Regions from separate parts of the Homo sapiens genome. Here region 2 is linked to region 1. The links are contacts of gene promoters, found by promoter capture Hi-C in human tissues and cell types (Jung and others, 2019). All regions are on one chromosome and are shown on one strand. Each heading gives the region's core, a stretch centred on a gene start or on the middle of the fragment in contact. The rest is flanking DNA. Distances are from core to core; before and after follow the strand shown. Region 1 holds the start of BARX2 (BARX homeobox 2). Region 2 overlaps BARX2 (BARX homeobox 2).

Evidence for each region. Contacts are between HindIII fragments. The study calls those that stand out against the background at their distance.
Region 2: a contact is called between a fragment that was not itself captured here and the fragment with the promoter of BARX2 in region 1, in 2 of the 25 tissues and cell types used here (pancreas and spleen).

What each region holds. Positions count from the first base shown.
Region 1 is chr11:129,374,070-129,377,810 of GRCh38, reverse strand. It overlaps BARX2 (BARX homeobox 2), which reads right to left and starts at 1,963. Exons shown (of 4, transcript NM_003658.5): 1 at 1,589-1,963. The coding sequence starts at 1,775. The HindIII fragment of the contact is 19,007 bases long and covers 1-3,741 here.
Region 2 is chr11:129,406,302-129,410,111 of GRCh38, reverse strand. All of the region lies in intron 1 of BARX2 (BARX homeobox 2), which reads right to left. Among named protein-coding and RNA genes, the nearest start is that of BARX2, 32 kb to the right of the region's middle. The HindIII fragment of the contact is 4,239 bases long and covers 1-3,596 here.

The sequences.
Region 1 (3,741 bases), core at 714-3,213:
GCTCTACCTAGGTGCTTAGAAGTTGTTCTGTTTTGTCCTGGGAATGTCCCATACGCAATGTTAATGACTGAAACAGATCCTCTCTTTTTCCTCGAAGGGAATTGAGTTATTATAACAAAGGATGATTTGTGCTCAAAACAATATTCAACTTATCACCCCTATTCAGTATGTATGTGTCCAAGGGTCCACAACCACCTATACACAAATGTAAAAATATCAGTTCTCAGGAGATCTATCTTGTTTCTAAAATTTCTTATTTGTTCCTTGTTTCATATATTTCTTGGTTTTAAAAATTCAGTATTACAAGGCTTGTTATGGGACATCAGGCCTAATTCTACCTTACAGACAAATTAACTTTAAAAAGGCATAACTGAATACAGTATACATTTTACAACCAAATACATGTAGGAACAATTTGGTTTTAAAAGAACTTCACTGTATGTATTTATCATATGTTTACTGATTGTCATATAGGGACTATCAATGGAACCAAGAGAAAATACAGGATTCCACGCATTGAGCATTAACAACTCAAATGTTCCAAAAAATATCTTCCAAAACTGTTGGCCCTTCATTTTTTCATTTTAAGTGTAATTTAATTTATCTCATGCCTCTCATGCAACTAACAATCTCAAAGGTTCTTTTGGTTTGGAAATACTTTATGCTTACCTTTAATGGAAAGCACACTCAATAACTTTTTTCTGATAAAAAGTGCTCCTACTTCTTTTTCGTTTTATTATACCCATGTTCCATAACCTAAATCCTAACAATGCCGAGATACTTTGAAACTTGGATCTTCTCTTAATGCATTCAAAATTTTAAAAGTACCTTGGATTTATTTTCGATAGAAACTCTACTACGTTTTCAATATATGTATTAAGTTCTCTTTATCTTTACTATTGCTCTTACCTCCCGTGAAGAGAGAAAACCAGGTGTGAGTAATGTTTTCATTGTTACCATTGCTGGTTTTGGTCACTTAAGACAAACGAGGGTGACCTTTTCGGCTTGACTTAAGACAAACGAGGGTGACCTTTTCGGCTTGTGCCACAAAGACAATGTACTTCAGAACTACTTTCTCAGAGGGCGATCATTGTAAGCAAAGCTCAGTGAATTCGAGATTTTGTTGAGAACCTCAGGATACTGATTTACTTGCAAAATTCACAGTGGAGACAGTAGGAGGCTGGACAAGTTAACTCAAGGTGAGATGCAAGGCCGCCAAGCTCAAGTTTGAAATTCACACACACCACCACTTCCTGAAACAACGATTTAGACGCTGAACCTGCTCAAGTGTTTGAACTTTCAGCAGGAAACGAGGAAGCGTTCTCCTCCGAGCAGGACAATCAGGCGTTGCGCGAGCAGCCCACTCCTAAGGCCCTGCCGCCTTTATTTCCACTCGTGCCATCCACACCTTGCGTGGTCCTTCCCGGCCACGTCGCAGATGCCTTTGCAATGCCCACCGCTTGCTGAGGCGCAGGAAAAGAATCCCTTAACTTAACCCTTCCTCTCGCCCTCGGATCGCAAAGCACAGGCCACCTACACGGACGTGAAAGCTACCGAACCCCACTTATCCCCTAGCGGAGCGTCTTACCCGTACAGGAATGCAGGGGCTTGGGTCGCACGACCAGCGACGGGCACACGGAGTAGAGGGAAAGTTTCTCAAAGTAATCGCAGGTCTCCTTGGAGAGGATCTCGTCGATCATGAAAGTCTTGTAGCGCCGCCTGGCTGCTTTGAGCTGGCCGGGCGAGCTCAGCCTCAGCTCGGCGTGGCAGTGCATGGTGAGCCGGCGCGAGCGTCCGCCGGCCCGAGCGCGGCTGCGAGTGCCCGGCCCGCTGGGGCCGCGGGGCTGGCGCGACGGCGGGGCCTGGGCCCCGCTCCCGGCAGCTGGGGAGGCGGCGGGGCTCGGGTGGCGCGCGGAGGAGAGCGGGTAGCGGGCGCGCCTGCCGCGCGTCTAGACCCACCCGCAGATCAGCATCTTCGCTGAGCCTTTTTGGGACAACGCAGCTGTCAATCAGCGCGAGCTTCCTGCAGGGCCGGGTGCGGAGTGTGTGCTGAGGGGCGTCCGCGCCCACCCCGCCCCCGCCCGCCCGTGCCACTCCGGCGCCGACCTGCGCGCCTAGTGCCCGGCGGCTCTCAGTCGCTGCCTCCCGCTCTGGTGTCTCGCGCTCCTCTGCCTGGCTCTCTATTTTAAGACGCTCGTTTTGGCTCTCCTCCCCCTCCCCCCCGGGACGCGCTCCAGGTGTGTGTGCAGGAGTGTGCGCGCGGTGCGGGGAGCGCGCACCGCCCCAGCCCGCGGCCAAGGCCCAGGCCGGTAGCTCCCCGGGGCAGTGTTCCCCATGAGCACCTTACTGCCTGTCCTGCCACCCGCCGGCCCGGCTCCCAGTGTCCGCAGCCCAGCGGGAGGGCACGTTCAGGTCTCTTACTAGAAAGAAGTCTAGTCCTCACTAGGCTCCCGGGACTTCGGGCCACAGAGCCAGTGCCCCCGAGGACCCACCGTGCCTTTCTCCTTCCCCGCGTGGACGGTTTCCCGAAGACCGCGGCTTCCCAAGCCCTCCACTCGCAGTCTCGCAGCCCGCGCTGAGCCTGCGCGCTCCGAGCGTAAGACTTTTGAGCTGAAGTTGCAAACTTGACTGCCCCAAGATCCCAAATCATAAATGACCCTGGCCCCGTCCGTTACCCTCATAAAAAACTGAGAAAAAAAAAAAGATAAGAAAAGAAAAACTAATAAAAGTGTGAGTTATCGCCGGGCGCGGTGGCTCAAGCCTGTAATCCCAACATTTGGGAGGCCGACGTGAGACGATAGCTTGAGGTCAGAGGTTCGAGACCAGCCTGGTCAATATAGGGAGACCCTGTCTTTACAAAAGAAAAATTAAAAACAGGCATGGTGGTGCACGCCTGTAGTCCCAGCTACTGGAGAGGTTGAGGCAAGAGGAAACCTGTAGTCCCAGCTATTGGAGAGGTTTAGGCAGGAGGAAATCTTGAGCCCAGGAGTTCGCGGCTGCAGTGAGCCGGGATCTCGTCACTGCACTCCAGCCTGGGCGACAAGAGCGAGATTCTGACTTTTTAAAAAAGTGTGCGGTTTTTTTTAAAACATTGTTTATAAAAACATTTTTTCCTCGTTGGAAAGGGTCAGAGCTGCACGATTCTAGGGAGCCGGCGGGCACTGGGGCAGCCTGTCCCATGCGGGCTTCTCCCAGCGCCCGAGTCTTCCGGCAAAGGGGCTTTCAATATCCGGATCCCTCGCGATACGACCGGGTTAGAGAGTCGCGAAGACAGGCGTTTATTGGGTGATTTGCCTTTTTCTTTCCAGGCTCTTAGTCTTAGGGTCTGTTCCAATCAAAATCTGTACGGACTTTAGTTGTTCATTGGAATTGCTGCGTAAAGGGGACCCCGCCGAGCCTCCGCGCCCGGGAAGCCTCCGGCAGCCTGAGTCGCGCCCGGTGTTCGGCGGGAACAGCCCAGTGCACGCCCGTTTCCACGACTTTATGTTGGAATGAGTGTGCATGGGGTTGGAAGGAAAACGCACGACAGGGACACTGAGAAGTATAGACGCGGATGGCCTTCCCTAGGGCCGAGTTTGGGGCCGGTGACATTTCCTCCCCGCTCCCAGCCTAGAAGCGTCCGCGAGTGCCGGCGGGCTCTCTGCGGAGCTGCTTGCCCAGGGGGCCCTGGTGGCCGCGGAAGCAAGTAAATGAGGGCGCCTGGGCCGGTGATTAAACTAGGAGGGAGGGACACGCCCAGAG
Region 2 (3,810 bases), core at 228-2,727, 33 kb before region 1:
CATAAACATTTTCTATTCATTTGTAAATGTACATTGACATTTGATCTTTGTAAAAAGGTACCATCAATAATTCCATTTTATAGATGAGGCTATTAAGGCCCATATAAGTTAAGTCAAGGTTCTAAGATAGGACACAGAGTCAGAATACAAAGTAGAGAAATGGGAAGAGAAAGATAAGAAAATTAGTGGATCAACCTAGGACTTGTAATATCCAATTGGTAGAAATTCCAAGAAAAAATAATGGAGGAAATTATAAATAAAAGACTATAACAGAATATTTCTTAACTGCAGGTGAATAAGATGAATTGGCCATCTTAACAATGAATGAAAAAAGACTCACCAAAATGCAGATCATTTTAAAGTTTCAGGAAACAGGATGGAAATCAAGTCCTAAAAGTTTGCAAAGAGGGGAAAAAATCAAACCAGGCCACGTGCACTTTTGATATCACAATAAAAGCACAATAAAAGAACAGCTACTGGTAAAAGTTTCTCTAAGGCAGAACTTAACCTTTACCAGCTCTTCCAAAGTTATCAATCCTAAAAATGGTGAATGGACAGCAATTATCCCATCAAATATATTCACTTTTCACCACGTCATCTAAAAGATGTTCCTGTTTCATAAAAGAGAAACAAGCCTATGGTTTAGTCAGCTTGGTTACCAAGCCCCTGGAGGGTGGGGGGAATGTGTATGTGGTGGGGGATGATAGAGATCCTAGAACAGACCGTTTAAAAATTGTGCTTGAGCCCTTAAAAAAAACACACTGAAGAATTCACTAAAAGCAAGTATTTGGTTGCTTTACTTTTCAGTAGCATCCTAGACTAGTAGATAGACTATCACTCACATCCTTAAACACAAGGCAGAGAACGGTGGGTGGGATGGAAAACATGAATCGCTCGCCTGAGAGAACATGAAATTTCAGAGCATGCTGACATTTGAGAGGTGGGGAAGTTATTCCATTATACTTCAGTTTTGAAAAGTAAATTAGCAAAGGGAGAGAGAGATTGCTCAAAACTTCCATGATTTCTCTGAGAGCTCTTGTATTATCATATGGGTAGCTAGCTCCTGGCCCACAAGGTCTAAGTTATTCTAGATTCTGGATGGTGAATATCACTCCCCTTTGATTAGTTTGAGGGCAACAAAGGTCACAGCCCATCTCTTAGGGTTCAAGTTCAATCGTATTCAATGGGTGTTTGCATGGAAACCTTCTCATGTAATAAATAGTCAAAAATATTTATTGAGCACCTGTGGTAGACAAAATAAACATGGTCTGCTCAAGGAGCTTGCAGTCTAGAGAGAGAAAAATAAACAAATAATCCAATAAAGAAATATATAAACAGATATTTAATCATGACTTGGGGTAAATACTGTACCATGAAAGGAATAAACAGGCTTCAGTGATGGAGCATGTATGGGGGAGGCTGAGGGTGGGGAGGCCGAGATAGTCTCCAAAGAGGAGACATTTCAGAAGAAATCGAAAGGCTGAAAAGCACCAGCCAGAGAGTGTTCCAGAGAGTGGAACAACATAGGTTAAGAGCCAGAAACACGGAAAAGCTTATGTTCTAGGAACAGCAAAGAGGATGTGGATGAAGCACAGTGAAGAGACAGGCAGGGCCAGGTCATGCAGGAACAAAACCGACGCACTGTGAGCTAAGCATCCCTGTGCGGGTTGATTAATGGCTATCTTCTAGGGCCTGTGAGGGGCTGTGGTCCTTGTTTTATTATTCCTTTTTCAATATTTTTACTAAATTTTTACTAAAATGTGTCTAGAAACAAAAAAGGTATTCTATCAAATCTCATGTCACAAAAAAAGTAATGTATTGCATGACATCATCGGGATTTTTAAAGCTTAAAATGGACTAACATCAACAGAACCGAATATATCTTCCAGTGGCTTTCAGGAATCCAATCTCTTTAGCTTCTTCTCTAATCACCAAATGTATTGTTCTAGTCCTTCTGTCAGTCCCCCAAATGCCCCAGGCCTTTCCATGCCATACTCCTGCAGAGGTTGTTCTGTTTGCCCGCTTCTCCTTCTTCACTTGGTTAGCTTTCATCTGTGCTCCAACTTTTTTTTTTTTTTTTTTTTTTTTTTTGAGACGGAGTCTGGCTCTGTCTCAATCTCCTTACCTCATGATCGGCCCGCCTTGGCCTCCCAAAGTGCTGGGATTACAGGTGTGAGCCACCGCGCCCAGCCTGTGCTCCAACCTTTAACAGAGGCGCCAAATCCTCCAGGGTGCTTCTCTGACCCCATCCACACCCTCCTCCACTGCAAGTGAGGGGTAAGAGCCTTTCCTCCGTGTTTGATGAGCATCTTGCATGCATTTTTATCACACCCCTACCACACTGTATGGATAATTTCTGTTTATGCATGTCTTTCCTACTGGACTGAACTTGAATCCAAAAACTGCATCTTAGTCCAGAATCATATTTTCGAGACAACATTTAGTAGAGTGCTGCATATTTAGTAGGTACTCAAAGTTTACTGAACTGTATTATCCACTAATAAGTATAATATGAAAAACATCTGATTTCACAGCTGTCTGTGAAGTGGGGATGAGTAAAACATGGGATTTGGGCTGATCCTAGCGCAAGTCTCAACAGAAGTGCAAAGCATAGACTGTGCATAAAGTGTTATGTCCAATTTTGAAGTCAGGTTTTAAATGACCTGTAACTCTGCAAAAGAGGGTATTGAGAGCAGGGATGGGTTTGGAAACAACGTCATCTAAGGAATTGCTAATAGAACTAAATGAGCCCCTAATGAGGGAAAGCTGTGTCTTCTTCAACTTGTATCACTAGTAAATAGCATCATACGCAAAACAGGTGCTCAACTGAGGTTTCTCAAATGTGTTACATGAAGATGTAGGAGTTTGGTCTGATGTGACTGAGTAGGGTTATAGGAAGCTGTCCTCTCCACCAGCCGTATTCAAGCAGAGACTGAGACCACCATGGAGGCTCTGAGGCTCTGTGGGTGAAGGCTCTACAGCATGCAGGAGGTTAAACAAGTGACTTCTGAGGTCCCATTCGCAAGCTGTAGGACTTAGAGTCTATACTGGAATATACGCAAGAGCAGAGGTGTGTGCCCAACATATCCTAGAATATCCTTCCCGTAGTAGGATATAAAGTAGACCACTGTCAGCTTTATTAATTAGCTGCCCACTAAGTGCTTCCAACTCCATGGGTTGGATACTTGAAAACAGAAGAAAGTCACAGTTGCATTTTTTTAACCTGATTTTTAAAATATTCCTATAAAACCAGTTCTTTAATTACTCCAGTGGTCCCTTTGCTCCCATTCTGTCATCATCAACATCATCATCATCAATTATTTCATGTGAATCCAAAAACTGAGGGTCGATGTCCTAGTTTGCCATGACATGCAGGCTCAACTGAACTAAAGAGGCAGTTATGAACTCAATCACCGTTGAGGCTGGTTAGCCCAGGACTGGGGGGTCCACCTCCTTCAGGGTCCCTTCTCAGAGAGCAGAGCCTTGGGAGGTGCCTGCAGTGTCCTCCCTCCTCCACCTCCCCAAGCACTGTCACAGCAGCCACCTCTCCTACACTAGCTATGTTACTGCAATACAACTGTTGCTTGCACATCTGTCTCCCCACTAGCTGGAGGCTCCTTAGAAGCTGGAACTGTGCCTTATTCACCTTGTATCTCTACATAGGTCACCCAAGGAACAATACAGCCCGGGAATATGAGTGTGCACTCTGGTGTCGGGTAGACCTGAATTTGTGTTTAGACTCTGCTACTACCAAGTTGGGTAGCCCTGAAGGAATTAATCTCTTTGAGCCATTTTTCTAAACTGTGAAAA